Linked DNA regions of Homo sapiens: all the other regions are linked to region 2. The links are contacts of gene promoters, found by promoter capture Hi-C in blood cells and fetal thymus (Javierre and others, 2016). All regions are on one chromosome and are shown on one strand. The core of a region is centred on a gene start or on the middle of the fragment in contact, and the rest is flanking DNA. Distances in the headings are between cores, read along the strand shown. Region 1 overlaps STX6 (syntaxin 6). Region 2 holds the start of TOR1AIP2 (torsin 1A interacting protein 2). Region 3 overlaps IER5 (immediate early response 5).

Region 1 (4,663 bases), core at 1,584-4,083, 1.1 Mb before region 2:
AATTTTCACTCTGTAAAAACACCCATATGATGAATACTAGCCACATTTTAGAGATGAGAAGCTGAGGAAGTGTTAGAGGGGTTAACTTACTTGCCTAGGGTCACACAGCTAATAAGTGGTGTACTCAGGCTTCAAATTAGAACAACCTGATTTCACACTACTGTCAATACTTCCCAGTGCAGGTAAAATAGGGTCAAGTTATGTTGGCCTAAGGAGAATCTCATCTTGAGGCCATTACAGATTTTTAAAGCAAGGAAATGACATGAAATTAGGATTTTAGGAATATTGATTTGGTGGTAGTGTTGGATGCATCAGTGTGAGGAAAGATGAAAAAGGAGACCAGTTAGAAAGCTGTTGTAACTTATACATGCAGTGGTTAGTGCTTGGAAGTTTGAAGCTCCTTTTGGGAGGTTTTGACATTGTCAATGTCCTGTTCGGAACAGAATCCCACAACAGGGATTGCTCTTTTATCCTTATGAAGTAGGTATTATTATTGTCATCATTTCACAAAAAGGAAAATGAAACTTAGTAAAAAACTTCAACTTTATAAGCTTGTACGTAGAAGGGCCAGGATTTATATATTTATTACAAATATATATTATATATATAATATGGTCATTTTAAAAATTGGGATTATACGTTATATATGGTTTTATCACTTTTTCTTTTCTTTTTTTTTTTTTTTTTTTTTTTTTTGGGACAGAGTCTTACTCTGTCGCCCAGGCTGGAGTGCAATGGCGATGGCGTGATCTCAGCTCACTGCAACCTCTACCTCTTGGGTTCAAGCGATTCTCCTGCCACACCCTCCCAAGTAGCTGGGACTACCAATGTGCGCCACTATGCCTGGCTAATTTTGTATTTTTAGTAGAGATGGCATTTCACCCTGTTAGCCAGGCTGGTCTTGAACTTTGACCTCAGGTGATCCACACACCTTGGCTTCCCAAAGTGTTGGGATTATAGGCATGAGCCACCGCGCCTGGCCTGTTTTATGACGTTTTCATCTGTATTTCTTTATATCCTTCAGACTTCTGGGTGGCAGCTTTTAATGACTGCATTGTATTTTGTCATATAAATGTTCATCCTGGAAGATACATTATATTTATGATCACACTACAATTAATGTGGTGATAAGCCTACTTGTCATAGGTCTGTATTGCTGCTTCTGATTTTCATAGCCTGTATTCCTGGAGCATAATTGCTAATTCAGAGGGCAGGCACAGCAAAGCGTTTGATGCATACTACCACGTTGTCCTCCAGAATATTCCCCCTTGCCCCTCAAAGTGTTTGAGGGACCCAATTCCCTTGATTCCAGTACTGGGATTTTCATTAAAAAAATCTTTACTAATCTCCGGGTGAAAATATCATATTTAAATCTTGTAGTCTTCATCTTTGTATTCAGTAAGGATGTACTCAGTGTTTGTTGAGTGAACCCATTTTGATTGTTTAGTTCTGTAGTTTTTTTCCTCCCTTGTTGGCAAGTTTTTAGAATTAGCCTCCTTTTAGAATTTGCACCTTCTAATCAGACAAACCCTGAAGAAAACCATGTAACTGAGCATGTGGAGACAGAGTATAAGTGAGCCACTCCTGTGGATAAAAGGTACAAATACCATGGCTCTTTGCTATTTTATTGCTGTGGAGGTTTTGTGTGTCTGATGAGGATAGTTTTTTGTTTGTTTGTTTGTTTGTTTTTTTGAGACGGAGTCTCACTCTGTTGCCCAGGCTGGAGTGCAGTGGCGCGATCTCGGCTCACTGCAAGCTCCGCCTCCCGGGTTCACGCCATTCTCCTGCCTCAGCCTCCTGAGTAGCTGGGACTACAGGTGCCCGCCACCACGCCCAGCTAATTTTTTTTTTTTTGTATTTTCAGTAGATACGGGGTTTCACTGTGTTAGCCAGGATGGTCTCGATCTCCTGACCTCGTGATCCTCCCACCTCGGCCTCCCAAAGTGCTGGGATTACAGGCATGAGCCACTGCGCCCAGCCGAGGATGGTTTTTTTGTTTGTTTGTTTGTTTTTGAGACAGAGTCTCATTCTGTCACCCAGGCTGGAGTGCAGTGGCGCGTCTTGGCTCACTGCAACCTCCGCCTCCCGGGTTCAAGCACTTCTCCCTGCCTCTGCCTCCCGAGTAGCCCGCCATCACGCCCGGATAGTTTTTGTATTTTTAGTAGAGACAGGGTTTCACTGTGTTTACCAGGCTGGTCTTGAACTCCTGACCTCAGGTGATCTGCCCGCCTCGGCCTCCCAAAGTGCTTGGATTACAGGCATGAGCCACCGCACCCAGCATGATAACAGTTTTATTTCCAGGTTTTTGGCTGTGGATTGATGTTGAAATAATGACATAAGTAAGCTGATGAGTAAGATGGTATATGTTATGTTGTGTTCTTTAACCTTCTCTGTCTGCATATCTAGCTTTATTAACACTAGATTATGAGCTCCTCGAGGGCATCACGCATTCTATTCACTGTTGAAAAACTGTATTGGTATAGTCACTGTGAAAAAAATAACCCTTGTTTGTTAATTTTGGCCTAGTAAAATTGAATGTAAATCAAATTTAATACTTTCTAAAAAGCAGAATCCAGTGTTTCGTTGTAAGAACAAATTTGCAAGCCTTTATTATAAATTTGAGTGTTTAATATTATTTAGCTCCTTAGTTTGGAGAACACTATGCAGATAAGTGAAAGATATATTGTGTAAGATTTTGCAGTAGAGTTGAGATGCTGTGGAGATTGAAAAAAAAAGAAAGACCCATGCTGGGAATGCTGGTCAATCTGGGCCTTAAAGGAAGTGTCTGCTGAGGTGTAAGGCTCTTCTAGGCTGGGGAAACAACTGAGTGGAAGTCAAGAACCAGGAATGAGAAAGATAAAGATGGGAAGAAGACCTGCCAACTGAAACAGAATTTGTTCAGTGAGAAACCATGCTTGATACTAAAGTCAGCCAGTTTGGGTTAGGAGGAGGAGTGGGAGAGGGTTTGAATACCTGCCTGAGGAGTTTAAATTTAATCTGATTTCTATCATAAATTCTAAATCAGGAGGCAGTTTTTAAACTAGCAGTTACTATTCACTTGCTTATAGTCAGCTTTTAAGGGTTCAAACCCAGATCTTCTGATTCTACAAAGAAAACAGATTTGTGGGCCAGGTGCGATGGCTCATGCCTGTAATCCCAGCACTTTGGGAGGCCAAGGCAGGCGAATCATGAGGTCAGGAATTCGAGACCAGCCTGGCCAACATGGTGAAACCCCATCTCTACCAAAGATACAAAAAATTAGCTGGGTGTGGTGGTGGGCACCTGTAGTCCCAGCTACTTGGGAGGCTGAGGCAGGAGAATTGCTTGAACCCTCTTTTGCAGTGAGCTGAGATCACGCCACTGCACTCCAGCCCTGGTGACAGTGCAAAACTCCCTCTCAAAAAAAAAAAAAAAGATTTGTGTGGAAGTTTTGGAAAAATGCAATTAAATAAGTCTTGGTAATAGAAAGTGTCTTATAATCAGGGTTGGAAGAACTTGAGGCAAGCAGCCAATATGTCTGAGCCCCAAGGTCTCTTATTTATGTTTAAGGAGCACAAACTAGATTATCTTGAAAGTTCTTTCCAGATCTGAAAATTCAGTGATTGGATTTAAGTAGAGGTTGTGCAAGGTAAGGAGGAGGAGGAGTCAAAAATGACTCTTGTCTAGACAAGTGTTGAAACTTGGAAAATGGTGGCACTATTGGCTAAAATGAGGAAGCTAGAAAGGGAAGCAGATTTTTCTATTTTGTTTGTTTTGAATACATTATGTTTTGTAGGGAGGATATGATTAATTTGGTTTTAGGCAAATGGAATGATCCTATAGGCAGCTAAAAATATAGGAATTAAGCCTGGCTGAGTGGTTAGGGTTGGAAGTATAGTGGGGGAGTCATCAGCTTAAGAGGGGTGCTTTGAACTTGTGAATGCTGATGAGCACATAGAGGCCACAAAGAGTACTGAGAAACATTGGGATCCAGTGGAGGAAGAGGAAGGAGAAAACTGGTAGAAAACTAGAACAGCACAATGTCACAGAGACAGAGAAAGTGAGAGTTTCAAGCAAATAGATATAATGGGCCATAGTGTCAAGTGCACCAAAAATGAGGACAAGTTAAATTCACTCGTGACTTTGACCTGCAGTGTCATTGGTGGAGTTGTGGAAGCAGCAGTAAGTTAGGGTCAAAAATTGTATATAATTGTAGGTAACTGAGTAAAAATGATGTTTCATTTTCACAAGAGTAATTACAAAATATGTCACAGTGTGGTTGAATTTGGAAATGGCAATAAAGTCAAGTAAAGGGTGTGCATGTGTTTCCTTTCAAATACAAACGATGTGAATGTAGAAGTCAAGCAATAAAAAGAGTTCCTCTCTTTCTGGAGAGATGAGTGGTGAAACCAGGTTTGTGGGGTATGGGGCAGGAACCAGTTGGAGAAGAGTGAGGAGTGGGAGTCTGATGTGTTGCAGAGGCTCACTCAACCTGAATTTTTCATGTTTCATTACTAGAATGGAAACTTTCAGCCTTGACTAGCCTCTTTTACTGTATTGATGAAATGGGGATCCCTCTGTAAAGACTTGCAGAGTAGGTGCTGTCCCAGATAAAAGAGTTGTGGCAGATTGTATTTTTTCCATTGATGGCTGCACCAATAAATGTTCTGTCCTGTGTTGCTTT
Region 2 (4,712 bases), core at 807-3,306:
GTGGCTGAAAAGAGGTGACATTACAGTGACAGTAGAGTCATAGCCAATATTATAAGGGATGCGCTGGGCCACTAAAAAAGGATGCCTCAGCTCTGGATATTAAAGTTACTTTGGGAATTTGAGAAATCTGGAGGAATTCAGTGACCCAAAAAAGAAGACCGGTAAGAAAAGAAATGATTAAAACAAAGAATACACTTAATAATTCATTTACTTATCAAACGTGTGCCAGCAATGAGGAAGACTATCTTTAGGGAATTTGTCATTTATTGGGAACGACAGAAACACGAAAAATTACAATTCAGATTAAATGGCATTAATTCACACACTTAACTATTAGGGCTAGGTCTGGAAATCCTGTGCTCTTGAGACTGGGTTCCTAAATCAGTTATTTTATTTCATTTTTAATTAATTTATTTATTTAGAGACGGAGTCTCGCTCTTTCGCCTAGGCTGGAGTGCAGTGGTGCAATCTCGGCTTACTGCAGCCTCCCCCAACTCCAGGTTCAAGTGATCCTCCTGCCTCAGCCTCCCGAGTAGCTGGGATTACAGGTGCCTGCCACCATGCCCAGCTAATTTTTGTATTTTTAGTAGACATGGATTTTGCCATGTTGGCAAGGCTGGTCTTGAACTCCTGACCTCAGGTGATCCATCCGCCTTGGCCTTCCAAAGTGCTGGGATTACAGGTGTGAGCCACCACGCCTGGCCAAAATAATTATTTTAAATGAAACATTTTAGAACAATAAATTTTTTGTACAGGAACTTTTTGCTTTAGGGTAAGCAGAAGTTCATTTATTTAAAGAGATAAATCTATCCGTTGTGACTTAGTAGTACAAATGAAGTAGGCAAACAATTTTAATAAGGAAAAGATGATTAAAATATTAAACAGGAGGAAGTTAATTAAAGACATAGTAGCTGGCTCCATTTATTCCCCAGTCTTACAAATGATAGAAAAATATTTTAATGACAATACAAATGAAAATTCCTGGAAATGTTATACTGAAATTAATTAAACACAATAAAGTGAATGGAATATAGTATTCTTTTTGTTGAATTAGGACTTGCAGTTAATTATTAAACACCATCCAAGAGTGTTACCAAATCCTGTCACTTCTGCCAAGAGAGGGTGATTGAGAAGTGAAGGCACCAAAAATCACATTAAATGAGGAATTATTAATTCAATAAATACTTGAGCTACTGTGTAGTAGGCAGTCCCTGTTCTCTGTGCTGGGGATACAGCAGTGAACAAAATAGACTAAAAGACAAAAAATGTTTCCTGCCTTCTTGGAGATTATATTCTATGGGAGGAGTCGGGCAAAAATCAAAATAAGTAAAATAGTGTGTTGGTCAGGACTGTTATGGGAAAAAAAAGAGGAAAGGGGAAGGGAGTTTTACATGAATAGATTTCTTCTTGAAATTTGGTTAGATTTGTCCTGAATTGCTGTAGGTCAAGAACAGGAATTTTAGACTTACTTCATTTTTCCCCCAACAAATTGTATGTTCTTGGGTAAATTGCTCGCCATCTCTTAATTTTCACATTTATAAAATTAGTAGATCAAAACAGCTATTTTTTGTCACTACTGTCATTTAACAGAAATGCTGCATACGTCATCTAATCTACTAATAACAAACTTATGAGGTAAGTAACGTTGTCCCCATTTGACACACGAGCAAACTGAGGTTTAGATTAGGCAACTCATTGGATTACATGCTCCTCTTAATGGCACAGAGGGTGTGTTCCAGGACATGGTGCTTGCCATTATCATTTGGTACTGCTGCTCACTGTGTTGGTCCTATGAGTTTCTTCAGTCTATGAATTTCAGGTCAGGGTGGTCGACGTCTTACAGAGATGCCTGTAATCCTGTCAGCATGAGATTGCATGGGACCTCTGCGGTTTGGTCGCGCATTTACCGCGCCTGTCGCTGGGTCAGACGACCTGGCAGTAGAGGGTGAAGGATGGAGAAGGCAGAAGGCAGGGCACGGAGACTACTAGTCCCAGGATTCCACGGGCGCCTTCCGGCGGAAAGTGTTTGTCATATGGGCGGGGACCCTGGACGACATTCGGGCCGCGGCGGCCGCTGGGTGCAGCCGAGCGGTGTGGAGCGGAGAGAATACTCGAAGGGCTCTCCTGATACTAACAGTTTTACGATTTAAAACTTCGCCAGAATTTGTAAGTAAACAAAATGACTATGCAGCTTTTCCATGTTTTAGTATTGAAACTGATATCTTGAATTTTTGAAAAGGACTTTCAGAAACGGTCCCTCCCCACCCCCACCTTCGTACCGCACAAATGGTATTTTTATTTTTATTGTTTTTGAGACAGGTACTTGCCCTGTCACCGAGGCTAGAGTACAGTGGCGTGATCATAGCTCACCACAGCCTCATACTTCTGGGCTCAAGGGATCCTCCCGCCTCAGCCTCCCAAGTAGCTGGAACTACAGGCCCGCACCACCATGCCCTACTAATTACTTTATTTTTTATTTTTATAGCGACAGGGTCTCACTGTATTGCCCAGGTTGGTCTCGAACTCCTGGCTTCAAGCGATTCTCCCACCTCAGCCTCCCAAAGTGCTGGGATTACAGGCGTGAGCCACCACGCCTGGCCTCACTCAAACAGTAAACGAGGTAGGTTGGGGGTATATTTTTGTTTTGGGATAAAAAGAAACTGAATCTTATAAATATTAAATGGGTTAAGATGTGAGTAAATTTTTGGGTTTAGACTTTAAGGTGAGAAGCCGAATTATTTTAGGGTTCGAAATGTGAGTGGGAAATTTGCCTACTAGTGTAGGCGGCGATTACTCCATTCCCAACATGCCTAGGTTCTCGACATTCATAATCTTAATCCTGAAAAGATAATACTTAAAAAAAAAAAAAATTGGTGCTAAAAAGGGCAAAGTTGAAGTTTTAGTAAGACCTCCTACCATTTTGCTTACATATTATATATGTACCATTCTCCCAATTGTATTTAATACCTGATGAAAAAGTTTGTGCCTTTTCCTTCTTTTAACAAATTTCATAGTACTCTCTACTTTATGAGTAATGCTTAATTATCAGACTTTATACTGTTACACAGATCCAGAAATGAGTTACATAGATTAAACATACTGGCTTTGTTTTACCTGTCTTTAGGTTTTAACACATTTTATTTTGGATCTGTATGAGAGATCCTTTCTTTGTTTTAAGCTGTGGCAGTTATCCATGTTTTTTGAGCTTTTTTTTTTGAGCACAAGATGAGGATATAAAAGGCCAGTGGAAACATTTAATAAAAAAAGGAACTTCATGGTAGAGTAACTACAGATGTTTTTGGAAGACTTTGTGTGGATTAGAATAGTTTGAAAAACTAACATTTGTTATGAAAACTGAGTGCCTGTCTTCAGTAATGTTTATTATGCTGAACGTGCAGTCCACAACTTGATTACCTGTTTTTCTGCTGGTTTGTTACGCAACCTTGCGTGACTCATTTAAGAACTATTTTATCTAGTTTCTTTCCTAATGTAGAGGTAATGCTAGCTTGAGAGCTTCAATAATTTATAAATAAATTAACTTCAGAATGTAGCTAATTATTTGAGGATTATTGGGTGTTTTAATAATGTATTGTATCTTGTATATAACTTATTTTTGCCTAAGAAGTAATTTCTGTATTCCATTCATTTCCATGGAACACAGAAGTCAAAATTCTATTCCAGGAAAGTCCACACTTCTTTGAAGTGCCACTTGAATTTCCTGAAGGAATGTTTGCTTCAAAAAGCCTTGTCTGCTTTATCACTTTGAGGTTGTTCACTAAGTCAACTGTGAAGGCCCATAAACTTGGAGATTCGACAACTTCCAAAAAAATTTAAAGAATGAAGAATTGGCTGTTTTATTTACCATTTAGAATTTTGATTGTGTTAAAATTTCATTAATATTTCTACATCATATGAACTACTGGATTAAACTGTGTCCTACAAGAAGGAATTCATAGGGCGATCATATATTACCATAAATTTTGCACAGAAATCAAGCACTTGGGAATAAGGAAGCGTGTCCCTAACATTGGTAATGAGCATAGACTGGAGTCATAGCTGGGTTTGAATTCCTATTTTGTTACTGTGTGGGCTGTTTTCCTCTTTACTAATATTTAAAGGAGCTGGCACATGATTTTTTTTTTTTTGGTGCCATGGCTCTGGTATGAACTGTGCACATAATTTTGGTAATCGAAATTTCTGGGAAGAAAATTCACCTATAACTCCACTACCTCAACAAATCAAATTGTTTGATTTTTAGAGATTTTCCTTCAGCCCTTGACCATGAGTATCTATCATGTAAATGTAATGACATTTTTGGAAAAAGTCAAATTTTGAAACATTGGTGTCTTCTGGGGTTTTAATTATATAAATGAAGCTGTCTGGTTTTGCCTTTAATAGTTCAAATAATAATTATTTACGGTTTTTGAGGACTTCTTTTGTGCCCCTGTGGTTGCCAGTATTGCACATTATCTCATTTGATCTTCACACTGCCTCTTTCATCTAAGTACTATTATTCCATTTTGTAATTAAGAAAACCAAGGAAAAAATTAGCCAGGGGCTGGGTGCAGTGGCTCACGCCTATAGTCCCAGCACTTTGGGAGGCCAAGGTGGGTGGATCACTTGAGGTCAGGAGTTTGAGACCAACCTGGCCAACATGGTGAAACCCTGTCCCTACTAAAAATACAAAGAAATTAGCTGGGCGTGGTGGCGGG
Region 3 (4,868 bases), core at 1,546-4,045, 1.2 Mb before region 2:
AACCCAGTGATAAGATGGAACAGTTTTATAATTATTAATTTCATTCCCAATATTTCTGACATCTTTATTCTGAGAAGCTTTCCACCAAAGTTGTCAAATGACCCATTTCCTCTCACTTCACACTCCCAAATCCAATCAGTGATGAGTAGAAGGAATGGAAAGGTTATTTGGTGCCATAAAGAAAACCCAGTCACCTTGGAGGAGCAATTCAGGCTTTCCATCATTAGTTCCCATCGCCAAGAACAAATGATGGTTTCTAAAAGGGAAGACAGGGTTAAAACAACATGGTTGAGAAGTACATACTAGGCCGGGGGCAGTGGCTCACGCCTGTAATCCCAGCACTTTGGGAGGCCAAGGCAGGTGGATCACCGGAGGTCAGGAGTTTGAGACCAGCCTGGTCAACATGGTGAAACCCCGTCTCTACTAAAAATACAAAAGTTAGCCAGACGTGGTGGTGCATGCCTGTAATCCCAGCACTTTGGGAGGCTGAAGCAGGACAATCGCTTGAACTAGGGAGGCAGAGGTTACAGTGAGCTGAGATCACACCACTGCACTCTAGCCTGGGTGACAGAGCAAGACTCTGTCTCAAAAAAAAAAATACATTACTAACATTTATCCCTTTATTCTCTTTTTTCCCACCACCACACCTGGCTAATTTTTATATTTTTAGTAGAGACAGGGTTTCACCATGTTGGCCAGGCTGGTCTTGAACTCCTGACCTCAGGTGATCCACCTGCCTCGGCCTCCCAAAGTGCTGGGATTACAGGTGTGAGCCACCGCGCCCAGACTTTATTCCCTATTAATGTGATCTTCTTGGAGTACTTGTTGGAAAGCACTTTAAACATCTGGCTTTTACGCAGCAGTCAGAAGGTTTTTTTACACCCCAGAGCTAAGGTTAATTTGATCAAGAGACTAGGTCCCTCCCAGAGTGGTGAAGAAGTGGTTAGGTACTAAAACCATGGCATCGTTTCTAGTCACACTGCATCTGATTTGGTTGTGTGATAGCCCTAGGTTGGCATTGGGAAGGCTCTTGTCCAGAACCTATCAATAAGCATGTTTTAAACATTCCATGCGCAATAATTCAAGCAAAAATAACTTTATGGGCTACTTTTTTCTTTACTCATCCACAGAAAGCATTTGTATGTCAACAAGAACTTTGCTCCTTGCCTGTTTTCACTTCAGCTTACTCCTCCCTGAAAATAGAGTTGTTTGATACAATTGGAAAAATCATCCGGTTGGTGTGAGACATTCACAGCAACAAAACTATGTTGGTAGAACAAAGCTTCCTGACTGCCAAGTGTCCAGAGAAAAAGAGGAATAAAAGAACCCAGCATTCACACATAGGACCACTTAAAAATAGATTCTCCATTCTCCTCTTTTCTTACAAATACACACAAATCTTTGACCACAGTGTATCTGATTTATACACAGAATTAACTTCTACATTAACAATAATTAACAGTTGCGTGCTTATTACATATGAGGTACTCTTCTAAGAGCATTAACTCATTAATTTTCACAACCCTATGAGACAGATCCAATTATCCCAATTTTACATTTGAAAAACCTGAGGCACAGAGAGATGAAGTAACTTGTCCAAGGACCCACAGCTAGGTGGCAGAGCCAAGATAGAAAAACCCAAGCAGGCCAGGTTGTGGTGGCTCATGCCTGTAATCCCAGCACTTTGGGAGGCTGAGGCAGGAGGATTGCTTGAGGCCAGGAGTTCAAGACGAACCTGGTCAACATAGCTCACTTTATATTTACTTTTTATAATTAAATAAATAAATAAATAAAGGAAGACACCAAGCAGCCTGGCTCCAGGGCCCATGCTCTAACTACTATACTATACTGCTTCTGCAACAAAAAAGAGAATGATCTTTTCTAATTCCTACAAAGCTTTATCCTCCTATCAAGTATGCCAATTTACATTCTTTAAGCAGACACATGGACCCAGGTTCATCTTAATGTAAAACCAAGGATCAACTTTAGTCTCATCCAAAACACATCAGCTCTCTTAAACACACCAAACGTTACCCCCTTTAAAACATAAAATACACTGAGATCGCTGTTCAAGCATCATACTTTCTAACAACAGGAAATGTTTGCAGAATTAAGGCCCTGGACACCTTCTTCAGTTTAAGCAGTCAGCACTTGATGGATCTTTTGTAGCTGTAACAGAATTTAAGTAGCTACTTTCTGAAAGAAAAAGTCAGTTTAACAAGACCCTAATTTGAGAATGTTTAATTCTATAAATACATTATTATGGCGACAGAGCATAAAGTACAAAGTTCCCTATGCTTAAGGAACCACTAATAGATTTGCCGAAATATCAAGGCACGAGGCACTGGCCTATTCAGCTAAAACAGAAGTTCGTATAATTGGGAGTTAAGGCCAAGACACCATTCATATGCCTCTTATGCTCGAAGGCTATGACCTTTAAACCTTTGTCTTTCTTCAATCTCTCCCATCTTTTAAATACCCTATATACTCGTAAGTTGTTAGAAACCAGTACCATCTTTTAAAGTCCTGGCAACTGTACCGTATTTTAATAAACACCATTCCCTAATTGATTTGCTTCTGAAATAGATTACTGAATACCTTTCAAACATTGAACATGAAGAGACAAAAAACTCTCTTAATGGCAGTGATTTTAGTAAAATCGATGGATGTTTTGGCTATCATCACCTAAGTGTCTACCATGACCAAACACTGATGTCACCATTTAAGTAACAAAACAAATCAGGAAGTTTTGCTAAATGAGAACTAAATTTGCCTAGCCCTCCTTCCTTATCTGGTTTGATGCAAACAATTTCCCTCTCAGCAATATATTTACTTTCTAGATGTAAGAGAAAAACTGAAAATTTACATCCTGACATCCACTGTGATGCAGAGGTGGACCTGACAATTTGGACAAGTCAGTCTCTTTCATCTTCCTATGTCAGTTCGAATGGGCTTTTAAGGTAAACTACTATCTAAACTTTTTTTTTTTCAATTACAAAGCTAAAAGATGACCCGTATTAATAGCTTAACAGGAAACAAAGTTTTGCTGAAAAACATTTTTGTGGATAAGCGGGGCTTCAAAAGTTGGTTAAATTACTTAGTATTAGACACCCACATATTGGGTGACAAATTGGTCTAAACTGACCTTAGAAAAGGCAGTTGTAGTGGCAGGTTTCTAGAACCTGACAGGTCGCCGATATTAGTATCTAATAGCAGTCCTCTGATCTAGGAGGAAAAATTAAACGTGTCTCTCTTGATACTTAGTGGAGTCAGTAAACAATGTCCTCAGTCTGCGAATGACTGATACTAAGAACCACACCTTCAATTTTCTAGCTCAGGCCCTGGTTTCCCTCCTCCCACTTCCCTCCCAACCCAGGCAGGTTATTACAGACAAGCAGGCAGTTACGTTGCTTCAAAATATTTAATACGTGTTAGACACGTAGAAGTTACATTTTTATACAAAAATCAATACAACGAAGGAGAAAATACTGTACAAAAACCTTATCAGCTCCCCCAACCTTTATACAACAAAGACTGGAGTCACCATATCTACAAAACCATAAGGTCTTTCCACTTCGGGCTTCTGTCTGTAAACTCTCATTAAACACTTTTTAAAAGCACTGTGTAGTACTTCTGACCTAGAGCTTTTAAAAATATATCTTTTCTCTATAAACTCCATTATTTCCAAGCTTGAACTCTTCTGTGAAGTTCGTCAAGCTTTTTCTCCCCTGCGGGGAAGCAAAGGACCGTTAATACGCCCCTTTCCTAGAGTAATCACAGGATATAAACGTTTCTTCATTGGGAGAGAAAGGTGGGGAGGGACAGAAGGAATCCAAGTCTGTGCTCTTGGCTAAATCCCTCTCGTCTTAGGAAATCCTGTGCGGAAACGCCACTCCTGGCCCTGAAGCGGGTCTAGCTTTCCGGTGAGGGGTAGGTGTAAAGTCCCTCCCTCCCCGGAGAACGAATGGGGAACTCCCCGGCCCAAACCTTTTAGCCGCTTCCTTCTCCACGCAGCCGGCAGAGGAAAGTCCCTGTCTGCCCCCAATCTCTTAAACCCTGGGGAAGGAGTGGTGCATTCCAGAAGAGCAAAATAGTCTTAATGCCACAAGACAAACTTACATACACAGACATACACAAACACAAAAGTTAACGATCGTCCTCTTCCAATGAGCCTCAAGCTCCCAGGTCTCCAGATAAGCCAGATGCGCCCGGGGGCAGTTTGCGATGCCCAGAGGCAACCAGTCTGCCCAACGCGCTCAGCGCCCGCGGTCTCTGGGCGTCCTCGCAGCCGGGAAGGGCCTGGCCCTCACTTCGGGGACGCCCGCTGCTCCACCTCCTCCCCGCAGGGGGGCCAAGGGCTCAGAAGGCCACGATGGCTGTGCTCCAGGGGTTCATGTCTCTCAGCACCGGCTTATCGCAGCAGATCTGCCCGGGCTCGGCGGCTTCCGGACCGCTCTCCTCTCCCTCCTCTTCCTCTCTGCCGCCCCCGGGGCTTTTCCGTAGGAGTCCCGAGAAACTGGAACCGAAGATGCTGATGAGGTTAGCCACGTTCCCGGTCTCCATCTCCTCCGCGTCGTCGTCCTCTCCTCCACTCGGCGGCTGCTCTAAGTTCCGGCGGGGCTTCTTGAGCGGGGTCGAGCCGGGCGCCGGGCAGCCCGCTGGGCCGCCGCCCACCCCCGCCGCGCAGCGCTTCCTGGGGCACACCGCGGGCGGCGCGGGGGGCTCGTCCTCCGCTGGTTGCGGCGCGCAGCAGCAGGCAGCGCGGGGGGTCGCGGCCGGTGTACCCGGCGGGTCCTCCCCGCCTAGGGGGCAGCCGCAGGGGCGGCGCGCGGCACGAGATACCTCGGGGAAGACGCCCCAGCCTCCGG

What was found. Contacts are between HindIII fragments. The CHiCAGO score rates a contact against its expected background, and 5 or more counts as called.
Region 1: a fragment that was not itself captured here is called in contact with the fragment with the promoter of TOR1AIP2 in region 2 in 1 of 17 cell types (neutrophils); the score reaches 5.0 in neutrophils.
Region 3: a fragment that was not itself captured here is called in contact with the fragment with the promoter of TOR1AIP2 in region 2 in 1 of 17 cell types (total CD8 T cells); the score reaches 5.4 in total CD8 T cells.

Annotation. Positions count from the first base shown.
Region 1 is chr1:181,014,422-181,019,084 of GRCh38, reverse strand. All of the region lies in intron 1 of STX6 (syntaxin 6), which reads left to right. Among named protein-coding and RNA genes, the nearest start is that of STX6, 6.1 kb to the left of the region's middle. The HindIII fragment of the contact is 4,559 bases long and covers 554-4,663 here.
Region 2 is chr1:179,875,147-179,879,858 of GRCh38, reverse strand. It overlaps TOR1AIP2 (torsin 1A interacting protein 2), which reads left to right and starts at 2,056. Exons shown (of 7, transcript NM_001199260.2): 1 at 2,056-2,166; 2 at 2,486-2,620. RefSeq lists an enhancer at 1,722-2,081. The HindIII fragment of the contact is 9,006 bases long and covers 1-4,712 here.
Region 3 is chr1:181,089,378-181,094,245 of GRCh38, reverse strand. It overlaps IER5 (immediate early response 5), which reads right to left. Exons shown (of 1, transcript NM_016545.5): 1 at 1,346-4,868. The coding sequence ends at 4,360. Among named protein-coding and RNA genes, the nearest start is that of IER5, 3.1 kb to the right of the region's middle. RefSeq lists silencers at 3,739-4,033, 4,608-4,827 and an enhancer at 4,048-4,217. The HindIII fragment of the contact is 1,793 bases long and covers 1,899-3,691 here.